Linked DNA regions of Homo sapiens: all the other regions are linked to region 1. The links are contacts of gene promoters, found by promoter capture Hi-C in blood cells and fetal thymus (Javierre and others, 2016). All regions are on one chromosome and are shown on one strand. The core of a region is centred on a gene start or on the middle of the fragment in contact, and the rest is flanking DNA. Distances in the headings are between cores, read along the strand shown.

Region 1 (2,571 bases), core at 34-2,533:
GTATGAAATAAATTAGCAGAAAAAGATGTTCATGTTCTCACATGGGACTAGAATTAGATCATTACTCTCTCAGGCCTCTTACTATGACTGTTGTCAACAGTTAATTGTCAGAACTAATATGGTTTCCTAAAACAGCACTTCTTTAAAGTTTTTCCAGTTCAACTGAACTAGATTTATACAGTAGGGGTATGTCTTTACAGGGTGAAAAACATACGATGCAAATTTTTAGATATTTTCAAGAGCATGAGAGGTTTATAATCATTTTTACTTCTCTATCCAGAAATTTTTTTTAAACTTCATTTTCCAGCATTAATTATAAAGATGTTTTAAGAAGATCATGGAGAACTCTAGCAGGGAGAATGTAAGTGGGCTGAAATCTAATTCTGATAGGCAAAGAAAATGAAAAATTTAGGTTCCACTCTTGGATAATCAACAGAAAATAGGATTTAGATAATTCAGGTAAGCCATAATATGTGTTTTAAGAAATTATTGGATAACTAATTGACAAACTCAGTTGGAACTATAGGCCAGTATAATATACATTCAATAGTATCTGTTTAGCAGGAATTGCCTAATTGTAAATGACTCCTGCAGGAGCACGAAGGTAAATTTCTATTAATATAGGGTGTTTAATGTATTAAGATCATATGTTGCAATACAATTACTTTGATGGTAGAATGTCATGAGTTATTCTGCTTAAACTCTAAAGTTTTCTGTAAAGTAGGTATTTTTATACCTCCCATCTTTTTTAAGGTGTGGAATTAAAGCTCAGATAAAATAATTGGCCAAAAGTTAATCTGTGTGACTTTACATCATGTAATAATAATCAAGCCATGAATATCTCTTCAAAAGTTAAGAATGTTGTATAATTGATGATGTAAGATGACCACAAGACAAGCAAATGTAAACACTTTTTGTCAACCTATGAGGCTTGTGGAGCTGGACTCTAGGTCACTCCTCTAGTCTTGTTGTCATGAGTCAGCTCCTGGGTAAGCTCATTTCCTACTGTATAAAAGACAAGGACTATCCAAAAACTCAAGGGGTTCTAATTATACTGATTAAATTATTAAGCATTATTTAGACATTTACATAAGTTCTTTCCTATTATCCACCTATCCAGACATACTATTATGGCCTCTTCAAAATTTTTGCATTCAGCAAATGCACATTATATCTGAGATCTCAGAATCCCTCACCTTAAAAGTATTCTTAATTCAAATTCTGATTCCTTTCTATTTATCCTCCTTTAGAGTTGTTTCAGAACAAGTTTGCAGCTTGGAACCATGGATAAGTCCAATTCTTCAGTGGTGTCTGAATTTGTACTGTTGGGACTCTGTAGTTCTCAAAAACTCCAGCTTTTCTATTTTTGTTTCTTCTCTGTGTTGTATACAGTCATTGTGCTGGGAAATCTTCTCATTATCCTCACAGTGACTTCTGATACCAGCCTGCACTCCCCTATGTACTTTCTCTTGGGAAACCTTTCCTTTGTTGACATTTGTCAGGCTTCTTTTGCTACCCCTAAAATGATTGCAGATTTTCTGAGTGCACACGAGACCATATCTTTCAGTGGCTGCATAGCCCAAATTTTCTTTATTCACCTTTTTACTGGAGGGGAGATGGTGCTACTTGTTTCGATGGCCTATGACAGGTATGTAGCCATATGCAAACCCTTATACTATGTGGTCATCATGAGCCGAAGGACATGCACTGTCTTGGTAATGATCTCCTGGGCTGTGAGCTTGGTGCACACATTAAGCCAGTTATCATTTACTGTGAACCTGCCTTTTTGTGGACCTAATGTAGTAGACAGCTTTTTTTGTGATCTTCCTCGAGTCACCAAACTTGCCTGCCTGGACTCTTACATCATTGAAATACTAATTGTGGTCAATAGTGGAATTCTTTCCCTAAGCACTTTCTCTCTCTTGGTCAGCTCCTACATCATTATTCTTGTTACAGTTTGGCTCAAGTCTTCAGCTGCAATGGCAAAGGCATTTTCTACGCTGGCTTCCCATATTGCAGTAGTAATATTATTCTTTGGACCTTGCATCTTCATCTATGTGTGGCCCTTTACCATCTCTCCTTTGGATAAATTTCTTGCCATATTTTACACTGTTTTCACCCCCGTCCTAAACCCCATTATTTATACACTAAGGAATAGGGATATGAAGGCTGCCGTAAGGAAAATTGTGAACCATTACCTGAGGCCAAGGAGAATTTCTGAAATGTCACTAGTAGTGAGAACTTCCTTTCATTAAGACAAAACTCCTTCAAATTCCTCAGGTCAATACACTGTTTAATATTTTAATGTATTTTTGTGGTGTATCTCAATTGTGGGGAAAGTAGTGAAGAAGATAATATAGAGAACATTTAATGAATATTAACAAGTCTTTTTCTAGGTATCAAGTGAAAGTTAAATATAAAAACATGGAAAAATCTCTGTTTAGATTACTGGTTCTAGAAATAAAATATGGGCACTAGATGGATAATATGTATGCATTTACTGCTTTTGTTACGGGGTAAATGTAAATATCAAGAAAAAAATCAATGAGAACCTAATTCTCTGGTGGGCAT
Region 2 (2,571 bases), core at 39-2,538, 240 kb after region 1:
GAGAAATTGGCCAAAACAAAGGGGCTAGAGGCCCCATACAAGTCCAAAATCCAATAGGGCAGTCATTAAACCTTAAAGTTCCAAAATATATCTCCTTTGACTTCATGTCTCACATCCAGGTCACAGTGATGCAACAGGTGGGCTCCCAAAGCCTTGAGCACATCTGCCCCTGTTTTCTTTTTTTTGTTTTGTTGATCCTCTGTACTATTTTTTGGACTGCATTTTATTTAGCACTGCTCTGATCTTTGTAATTTCTTTCCTTCTACTAATGTTGCACTTGCTTTGTTCTTGTTTTTCCAATTCCTTGAGGTATGACAGGTTATTAATTTGTAATTTTACTACACTTTTATATAAGCATTTAATGCTATAAGTCCCTCTTACCACTGCTTTTGCTGTATCCAACAGGCTTTGGTATATTGTGTTTCCATTTTTATTGGTTTTATAATTTTAAAAACATCTCTGTCTTAATTTTTTTCATTGACCCAATTCAGGAGCATGTTGCCTAATCTTTCATGTATTTGTTTAGTTTCCAAAGTTTCTCTTAGTATTGACTTCTAGTTTCATTCAACCGTGATTGAATAAAATATTAAGAACATACTTTGATATTATTTAATATTTTAAAATTTGTTGAGACTTGTTTTGTGACCCAACACATGGTCTATCTTGGAGAATGTTCCATGTGCTGATGAGATGTATATTTTGCAGTTGTTGGATAGAATGTTCTGTAAAAGTAGTTAAGCTTATTTGGTCTAATGTCCAATTTAAGTCCAATACTTCCTTGTTGATTTTCTGTCTCAATTATCTGTCTAGTGCTATGAGCAGGGCATTGAAGTCCCCCACTATTAGTGTATTACTGTCTATGTCTTCCTTTGGGTCTAGTAATATTTGTTTTATAAATCTGGGTTCTCCAATGTCGGGTACATATATATTTAGGACTGTTATATCTTCTTATTGAATTGATCCCTTTTTCACTATATAATGACCTGTAGTCTGTAGTGTTGCCAACTTGATTCTTTTCTCTTTCTTTCTCCATTGTGTGATTTTTCTATAAGACCTGAGGGTTTTATACTCTGTGTTCTCATGATGAAAAGTATTGTGCTTTTGTTTCCAAGTTTAGAACTTCTTCAACAATTTCCTGTAGGTCCAGTCTAGTGACAGATTCCTTCACCATTTGCCTGACTGGGAAATAATTTATTTCTCCTTCATTTATGAAGCTTGATCTTGTTGTATATAGAATTCTTGGCTAGCATGTTTTTTTTTCCTTTCAGCACTTTAGTTATGCCATCTCATTCTCTTCTGACCTGTAAGGTTTCTGCTGAAAAAATTGTTGTTGGTCTAAAGTGGCTTCCTTTTTAAGTGACAAGAAGCTTTTCTATTGCTGATTTTATAATTCTTTCTTTCATTTTGAGTTTAGACGGTCTAATGATTATATCGCATGGTGACAGATTGTGTGTGTGTGTGTGTGTGTGTGTGTGTGTGTGTGTGATGTATTCACTGGGGTTTGTTGGTACTCTGGGATCTGGATGTCTAAATCTCTTGCTAGACTTAGGAAGTTTTCATCTATTATTTTATAAACTGTATTTTCTAAGGCTTCATATCTTTCTTCCTCCTAAAGAATACCAGTAATTTGTACATTAGATTACTTTATGTAGTCCCAAATGTCTCAAAGGCTTTGTTTATTCTTTTTCTTCATTTTTTATCTAACTAGATTATTTCAAGAGACCTATCTTTGTGTTCTAAAATTATTTATTCTGCTTAGTCTAGCCTATTGTTGAAGGTTTCAAGTGTATTTTGTATGTCCTTCAATGAAGTTTTTAGTGCTAAAATATCCTTTTTTAATATTTATCTTTTTAAATTTCTCATTCATTTCCTAAATACATTTTCTGATTTCTTTGTATTGGTTTTCAGATTTATCTTACATCTCACTGAGTTTATTTAAAATCAATATTTTGAATTCTTGATATGGTATTTCTAGAATTTCTCTTTGGCTAGAATCTATTGCTGGAGAATTATTGTGTTCCTTTGAGCGTGTCATATAACCTTGCTTTTTAAAGTTTCCTGCATCTTTACATTGATTTTTGCACATCTGGAGTGATAGTCACTTCTTATTTTCAAATTTACTTTCACTGGGGAGGGTCCTTTTACTCAAAGACATGACTATGATGTTGCTTGGTTAGGGGCATTTGGTTTAGCTTCTTGGTACATACAGTAGTGAATATTCTGTATAATTTCTTTGGCTATAAATAGCATTAGTGGTATGTGTGCTTTCCTTGGCTTAATATGGTGCAGTGATTTGCGGGGCTGTGGTGAAGGTGTGCTGGGGAGGGGAATGCCAGATGGCCCTATCTTCAGATTTCAATGGTAAAGGTGTTGGGCTAAGTGGGTCTATTCTTGTAATCTAGAACAGTGTTTCCTCATGTCTGCTTGGCAGTTGCAGGCAGGCTGATTCTTGAGCCTCTGGACGGCTTTCTTGAATGCCAGTTGCAGTAGCAGCGTATTGGGTGGGTGAGTGGGCTCTGGACTTCCTTGGCAGCCAATGTGGCATGGGCAATGGCAGTAGCAGTGGACACA
Region 3 (2,571 bases), core at 39-2,538, 210 kb after region 1:
TTTACTTCTGAGTTCTCTATCCTATTTCATTGGTCTATGTGTCTGTTTTTGCATAGTATCATGCCTTTTGGCTACTTTAGCCTTGTAGTATAGTAGTCAGGTAATGTGATGCCTCCAGCTTTGTTCTTTTTGCTTAGAATTGCTTTAGCTATTCAGGATCTTTTTTGTTCCATATCAATTTTAGGATTTTTTTCTAATTTTGTGTAGAATGGCATTGGTAATTTGATAGTAACAGCATTGAATCTGTACATTACTTTGAGCAGTATGACCATTTTAACAATATTGATTCTTCCAAACAATGAGCATGGAATGTTTTCCCAGTTGTTTCTGTAGGCTATGATTTCTTTCAATAGTGTTTTGTAGTTCCTTGTAGGGATATTTCACCTCCTTGGTTAGATATGCTTTTACATGTTGTTGGGTTGTGTGTGTGTGTGTGTGTGTGTGTGTGTGTGTGTGTGTGCAGAGCTATTGTAAATGAGATTGCATTCTTGATTTGTCTCTCAACCTGAATGTTAGTGCTGTATAGAAATGCTGCTGATTCTGGTATATTTATCATTTATCAGTCCTTGGAGCCTTTTAGTGGAGTTAGAGTTTTCTATGTTTAGTGTTATATAATCACCAAACAAAGGTAATTTGATATTTTATTTTTTTATTTGGATGTAATTTATTTCTTTCTCTTGCCTGATGGCTCTGGCTCAGTTTCCCAGCACTATGTTGAATAGGAATGATGAGAATAGACATCCTTGTCTTGTTCCATTTCTCAAGGGGAATGCTTCCAGCTTTTTCCCATTCAGTAAGATGTTGGCAGTGGGTATGACATAAATGGATCTTATTATTTTGAGGTATGTTCCTTCTATAAATGCCTAGTTTCTTGAGTGTTTTTCTCATGAACCAATGATGAACTGTATCAAAAGCTTTTTCTGTGTCATTAAGATGATTATACCATTTTTGTTTTTAATTCTGTTTATATGGTGAATCACAGTTATTGATTTGCCTATGTTGAACCCACCCTGCATCCCAAGAATATGCAAATAAGTATAGATGTTAGAGAACAGCCCATAGCTAGTCCTTTAATTTGTATTGCTGCCTCCAAATTAGCCAGTCAACCTGCCTGTAAAACAAAGATTCCCCCAATTCTCTAAGTTTTATCAATGTGATTTTAAATTTGGGTGGGTTTCTCCTCTACTTTTTTTTAAATTACTGATTACCATCTGTGTTCAATATCAGTAATTTACCATTAAATAAAATAAAATTTTTAATCAAACATCATGTTACACTATCAAGAACTGACTTGTCTGAAACACTGGAATCTATTTGGCACCTATTTGTGCCTTGTTTGCTATCCTGAGCAAAATATGACTGTTTGCTATTAGGTTTTGTAAACATTGATACAATTTATTTTTCAAAATAAACTAGTGATACTATTTCTTAAAGTACAAACTAAAATCTCATTTTACTAAAATTAATAACATGAAACATACAAAGAAGAAAATGAAAACCATCCCAGAGAAAGAGGTTTTCATTACCAGGATTTAGAGAGGTATTACCTATAAGGTTCTCACTGAGTAGCAATCTAGTTGCTGGAATGTCAACTCCACTGGCATGTCAAATCCCTGAGACCAAGGACCTTTAATAATCAGTCCCTAATTGCTTACCTATGTAGTAAGCTTTCCAAATGAAAAACACCCAAAACTTTTTGTAAAGTAAGGAAATACATTTTCAATTTTGTAGATGACAAAACATCATAGGACTGTCACTCATACATTTCTCCAGAAAATAATTAACTAGCATTTTTAAAATGGAAGTGGCACTGGGTCAAAACCTACAAATTTTTCAGGCAAGAAAATATAACTCAGTGGCTTTATGTCTGAGAAAACTGCCACTCAAATTAAAGGATTATAAACAAATATTTTTAATAGAATAGCTCAGCATGTATTTTTTTTCTAAAGAATCTCTTTGAATAAATTGAGAATAAACTAATTGTGGTAGGTGCAAAAAAAGTGGCCTCATTTCTACTTTTTAAAAATGCTTAACCATGCAAATATATTTCCTATGTGAAAATTAAATGTACCTTTAAAAAAGCATAGTTTTTTTCCAATCACCACCTTATCTTGTTTGGGTCTTCATAATGTTAATAAATTACACTTCCATACATAGCTATTTCATCTAAAATCTTAGGAGTTTTTAAGACATCGTGTCTATCAGCAAGTCTAAATGTCTCCACCATCAAAATACATGTCAAGTTCTCTGAATTCTTCTTACTACGGTCTCCTCCTCCCACTCTCCACCAGGCAAAGTTACCAACATCATCTTTTGTACTTGGTACTGCAACATCTTCAAACTGTTCTCCTTGCTCCTATACTTGCCTCCCTCAAACCCATTCTCCACACAATAGCCAGAACGACCTGAAGATTACAATTGTTGACATTATAATTACACACTGAGAATAACCTCCAAATGCCATGAGCTGGATAACATCTGCCTACCTCTCTAATGTTGCCTTATACTTTTCCTTCTTATGCTCACCATTTCCTCATCATGATGGTCTCCTTTCTGTGCCTTACTGTACCA
Region 4 (2,571 bases), core at 41-2,540, 170 kb after region 1:
GCAGGAAACCTCACTGCAATCGCTGTAACCTCCAATCCTCCCCTTTGCTCAACACCTATGTACTTCCTCCTTGGAAATCTCTCCTTTCTCAGTATGTTTATTTCCACAGTCACAATCTCTAAGATGGTCCAGACGTTCTCAGGGAGAATAAAACCACTTCCTCATGGGGCTGTATGGCTCAGATCTCCACTTCTTAGGAGGCAGTGAGATGACTCTTCTCATATTTATGGCTGTTGATCAGCACATTGCAATATGCAGACCTCTTCACTGCAGAACCATCACGAACTGCAGGGTACTCATGGCCACTCATGGGCTCTGTGCTGCTATCACGGGCTGTTGGTTTTGTGCATACTATAAGCCAGATTGTTTTTATTATCACCTTGCCCTTCTGTGGCCCCAGTGTGGTGGACAATTTATTTTGAGACCTTCCTCTAGTTCTGAAGCTTGCCTGCACTGAGACTTATGATCTGGAGTTGCTGGTAATTGCTAAAAGTGGACAGTTGTCTTTCATCTGCTTCATAGTCTTGCTCATTTTCTACACTATTATTCTGGTAACTGTGCAGCATCGATCCTCTGATGCACTCTCCAAGGCTCTGTCCACACTGTCTGCTCATATCACTGCAGTCACTCTATTTTTATGAGCCATGTGTCTACATTTACACTTGGCCATTTAGGAGCTTTTCAGTGGATACATTTCTTTCTGTGTTTTATTCAGTTACACCCTTACTGAACCCCATTACTTACAGTCTGAGATGAAAGCATCTATACATCAACTGAGGACCCAACACATCATCTCCAGACAAACCTTCTCTAATCAGCAATCATGAGGACAGGATATTAGTTCAGAACCCATATAAATTACGTTTCAGAATATGTTGATATTAATTTTATTTGTTGATTTCTATAAATAATATTGCATATATTGAAATTATCAAATATAATTTTTCATTATTATATTTCTATGGCATGTGTGGTTTTGTTGAAAATATAATTATCAGCCTGGGAACTCCATTACTGGGTATATACCCAAAGGAATATAAGCCATTCTATTATAAAGATACATGCATGCATATGTTCATTGCAGCACTATTGACAATAACAAAGACATGGAGTCAACCTAATTTCCCATCAATGAGAGACTGGGATTTAAAAAATGTGGTATATATACACCATAGGATACTATAGAGCCATAAAAAAGCAATGAGATCATGTCCTTTGTAAGGACATGGATGGAGATGGAGGCCATTATCCTTAGCAAACTAACACAGGAACAGAAAACCAAACACTGCATGTTCTCACTTAAAAGCAAAAGAGAACACATGGACACATAGAGGGGAACAACACACACTGGGCCTTTTGGAGGGTGGAGGGTGGGAGGAGGGAGAAAATCAGGAAACAAAACTAATGAGTACTAGGCTTAATACCTGAGTGATGGAATAATCTGTACAACAAACCCCCATGACATAAGTTCACCTATGAAACAAACCTGCACTTGTACCCCGACCTTAAAATATTTTTGAAAAAAAAAGCATAGTTATTTTCATTAACTTTCAATTCAAATTTGGGTTAATAAATTACTTTCAAAATATAATAAAAAGTTAACTAGAAAAACTGGCTTCTTAACTATATTTAGAGACTCCATGTATCTAAGACTTTCCTTAAATAAGAGAAATCAAATATAAATTTGTCTACTTTTAACTAGTAATCTTTCAGCCAAATTCTCTAAATGACCAAATGTAAACAAAGTTGTGTGAACTCTTATAAACCCACAAGCATGAACACACACACTTACATTTTTGTGCCCCTAATATGTGAAAGGATTATTATTTTTTAACAAGGCAGACAGGCTAGTTTTTATGAGTATATAGATGCATATAGTTACTGTAATCCACTGACATGAAGCATACACTTCTTCACTCTAAAGAGAAATTTCACCTGACAAAAAATTACACATAGAACATTTTAATCTTTCATGTTTTTGTTCATATTTTCTCTCATATATCTCTCCAGAAACAAGTAAGAACATTATTATTCTGCCAATTCACATGAGTAAAGAATAAATTAAGAAGCCTATATATTTTCCAGGCATTCCCTTCACAACAAAACAAAGTTTTCAATCTGATTAAGTTGCATAAAGAAAGCTTTAAAGTGTACTAAATTATAAAGTTAGATCTACGGTCCATGGACATTAGAATAAATACACATTCTATGACCTGTTTGGCATCAAATTCAAAATGCTCTGCTTTTACCCAAACATCTACTGACCCCTTAGAGGATTCTACCCGGTATTTCCTCACTGTCTCCTAAGTAATATGTATGCTATGTTAACTAGAGCTAAAAGGTGCCTTAAAGATGTATTCATAGCCATATGTGTATGGTATATTTTAAATTAAATGTTTTTTAAAAAATCATTGAGACACATTGGTACTGGGTCCCTTGGAATCACTGGACATATTTATATCTATTTCTTATCAACTATTTAAATTATAAGGTTAAATGTAGATACTGACATAACACATAATTTTTTGAATTTTTAAACATTTTGACACATTTGTATCAGATTCTCTTTTA
Region 5 (2,571 bases), core at 38-2,537, 150 kb before region 1:
AAAATTGGATATTAAAGTTCTCTATTAATATTGCATTGCAGTCTATCTCTTGCTTTAGATTTGTTAATATTTGCTTTATATATTTAGGTGCTCTGATGTTGGGTGTATTCATATTTATAACTGTTCTATTATCTCAATGAATTGACTTTCTTATCAATATCTAATGACCTTCTTTGTCTCTTGTGACAGTATTTAAAGTCTATTTTGTCTGATACACATGTAACTGCTACTGCTCTTTTTTGATTTTCATTTTCATGGAATATTTTTGTTTTTTACCCCTTTACTTTTAGTCTGTGTGTGTTATTAAAGGTGAAGTGAGTTTCTTGTAGGCAGCATTAAGTTGGATTTTATTTTTATAAATCAATTCAGCCACTCTTTGTCTTTTGATTAACAAAATTTGCTTATTTATAGTTGGTAAGTAAAGATTTATTATTGTCAATTTATTAATTGTTTTCTGGTTGCTTTGTAGATCCTTTATCCCTTTATTACTCCTTTGTTGTTTTCCTTTGTGATTTGATCATTTTATTTGGTGGTATGCTTTGATTCTTTTCTGTTTATCTTTTGTGTATTTACTATAGATTTTTAATTTGTGGTTGCCATGAGGCTTACATAAATATTCTTATTGTTTAACCAATTCATTTAAAGACGATAACATCTTAACTTTGATTGCTAAAGAAGCTCTGTACTTTTACTTCCCTTCTCTTACATTGTGCTTTTGATGTTACAGTTTACATTTTTTGTATGTCTTAAGAATTTATTATAGCTATAGTCATTTTGCATACATTCATCTTATAACTTTATAATGATGGTGTGATTCACACCACCACCATTATAGTGTTTGAATATTCTAAATTTAACCATATATATACTTTACCAGTTAGTTTTACATTTTTGTATGTTTTAATGTTACTAATTAGCTGCCTTTTATTTAATCTTAAAAATCCCCCTTTAGCATTTCTTGTAAGGCAAGCAATAGTGAAGACTCACTCAACTTTTTTTGTTTTTCTAAAAAAGTCTTTATCTTCTTCATTTCTGAAGGACAGCTTTGCTGGCAAAATATTGCTGGTTGGCAGTTTTATTTTTCTTCCATCACTTTGAATATATTATTTCATTCTCTCCTGATCCTCAAGGTTCCTGCTGAGAAATCCACTGATAGCTTTATTTGGGTCCTTTTTTATATGACATGATTCTTTTCTCTTGCTGCTTACAAGCTTCTCTGTTTTTGATTTTTGCCAGGCTGATGTTAACGTATGTTTGTGGATTCTTTTTTTGGTTGAATTGACTGGAGAACTTTAGGCTTCGTGCATGTGGATGCTCATTTCTTTCCGGATATTTGCTAAGTTTCCCATGATTATTTCCTTAAATAAGCTTTCTATCTAATGCTCTCTCTATTTTTCTTCTGAACCTACGATAATTCTAATGTTAGCTCTCTTGATAGTATTCCATGGCTTCTGTAGGTTTTATTCTTTTTTTTCTTTTATCTCCACTTACTGGATGATTTAAAATGCTCGGTCTTTGAGTTCACTTATTTTTTTATTCTGCTTCATTTAGTCTGATGTTCAAGCCTCTATTACATTTTTTTTTAGTTTAGCTGTTGTATTTTTCAGCTCCAACATTTCTGTTTGGTTCTTTTTAAAATATTTTCTCTCTTTATTGAGCTTCTCATTTTGTTCTTGGATTGTCTTCCTGATTTCATTAAACTATTTATTTGTGTTCTCTTGTAGTTCCCCAAGATTCCTTATGTAATTATTTTGATTTTTTCCAGGCAATTTATAGATCTCCAATTCTTTGGGGTTGGTTACTAGAAATTAATTTTGTTCCTTTGGTGGTGTCATGTTTTCCTGCTTCTTTGTGATCTTTGGGTGTTGATTTTGTCAGTGACTAAACCTGCTGGAGTCCTCTGTGGAGTTAAGTACTATAGTTTGCGCAGTGATCATTGTGGGTTCCTTGGTAGTGAAAGCAGTGTGGTATGTGCAGCTGATAATGGCAGGAGACAGACAGATTCCTAGGCAGACAGGTATAAGTCCCTGGTGAATCCCAACCTTCAAGCCAAAGACAACATGAAGCCTGAAAACCAAGCCACCAGTTCCAGGTGCAGTCCACGACCCAACTGAGAACTTCCTCAGTGCCTTTTAGTCAATTAAATGGTGCTTTTTCCAGGCCTGCCCATGAACCAGTCAGCACACATTCCTCCATTCTGAGCCCATAAAAACCCCAGACTCAGCCTCACAGATGGCTCTCTGCTTTCAGTCCCACTCTTACACAGAGGGCTACCCACTTTGGCTACTCTCTTGTTGTCATGAGTTTTTCTGCCGCTCAGTAAAAATCTCATCAGCCTTGCTCACTCTGCGGTGTCTATATGCTTCATTCCTGTTGGTTGTGGGACAAGAATCCGGAATCCACTGAACAGTGGGTGCGAAAAGAGTTGTAAGACACGCTCCTGTTCACCAAGCTACAGGAGTGAAAAAAAAAATGCTGGGTGCCACACGTCCCCAGTTGCTGAGCTGTGGGCAGCAGGACTGAATGAGCTGTGACATACCCCCATTTGCTGAAGCTGTCGGCAGTGAGAAC

Evidence for each region. The method cuts DNA at HindIII sites, captures the fragments that hold promoters and counts their contacts. A CHiCAGO score of 5 or more calls a contact.
Region 2: a contact is called between a fragment that was not itself captured here and the fragment with the promoter of OR4K5 in region 1, in 8 of 17 cell types (erythroblasts, total CD8 T cells, total CD4 T cells and 5 more). The highest score is 10.2, in erythroblasts.
Region 3: a contact is called between a fragment that was not itself captured here and the fragment with the promoter of OR4K5 in region 1, in 5 of 17 cell types (erythroblasts, M2 macrophages, total CD4 T cells and 2 more). The highest score is 6.8, in erythroblasts.
Region 4: a fragment that was not itself captured here is called in contact with the fragment with the promoter of OR4K5 in region 1 in 4 of 17 cell types (naive CD4 T cells, total CD4 T cells, naive CD8 T cells and 1 more); the score reaches 6.3 in naive CD4 T cells.
Region 5: a fragment that was not itself captured here is called in contact with the fragment with the promoter of OR4K5 in region 1 in 8 of 17 cell types (activated CD4 T cells, M1 macrophages, naive B cells and 5 more); the score reaches 7.8 in activated CD4 T cells.

The regions. Positions count from the first base shown.
Region 1 is chr14:19,919,324-19,921,894 of GRCh38, forward strand. OR4K5 (olfactory receptor family 4 subfamily K member 5) reads left to right here and starts at 1,284. Exons shown (of 1, transcript NM_001005483.1): 1 at 1,284-2,255. The coding sequence starts at 1,284. The coding sequence ends at 2,255. The region is part of intron 2 of LOC124903278 (a long non-coding RNA gene); the gene reads right to left. It also overlaps a transcript of OR4K1 not described here. The HindIII fragment of the contact is 8,373 bases long and covers 1-2,571 here.
Region 2 is chr14:20,162,888-20,165,458 of GRCh38, forward strand. No RefSeq gene overlaps it. Among named protein-coding and RNA genes, the nearest start is that of OR4N5, 25 kb to the left of the region's middle. The HindIII fragment of the contact is 153 bases long and covers 1,213-1,365 here.
Region 3 is chr14:20,134,302-20,136,872 of GRCh38, forward strand. No RefSeq gene overlaps it. Among named protein-coding and RNA genes, the nearest start is that of OR4N5, 3.2 kb to the right of the region's middle. The HindIII fragment of the contact is 753 bases long and covers 913-1,665 here.
Region 4 is chr14:20,093,461-20,096,031 of GRCh38, forward strand. It overlaps the pseudogene OR4T1P. Among named protein-coding and RNA genes, the nearest start is that of OR4K17, 16 kb to the right of the region's middle. The HindIII fragment of the contact is 1,698 bases long and covers 442-2,139 here.
Region 5 is chr14:19,768,913-19,771,483 of GRCh38, forward strand. No RefSeq gene overlaps it. Among named protein-coding and RNA genes, the nearest start is that of OR4M1, 3.3 kb to the right of the region's middle. The HindIII fragment of the contact is 157 bases long and covers 1,210-1,366 here.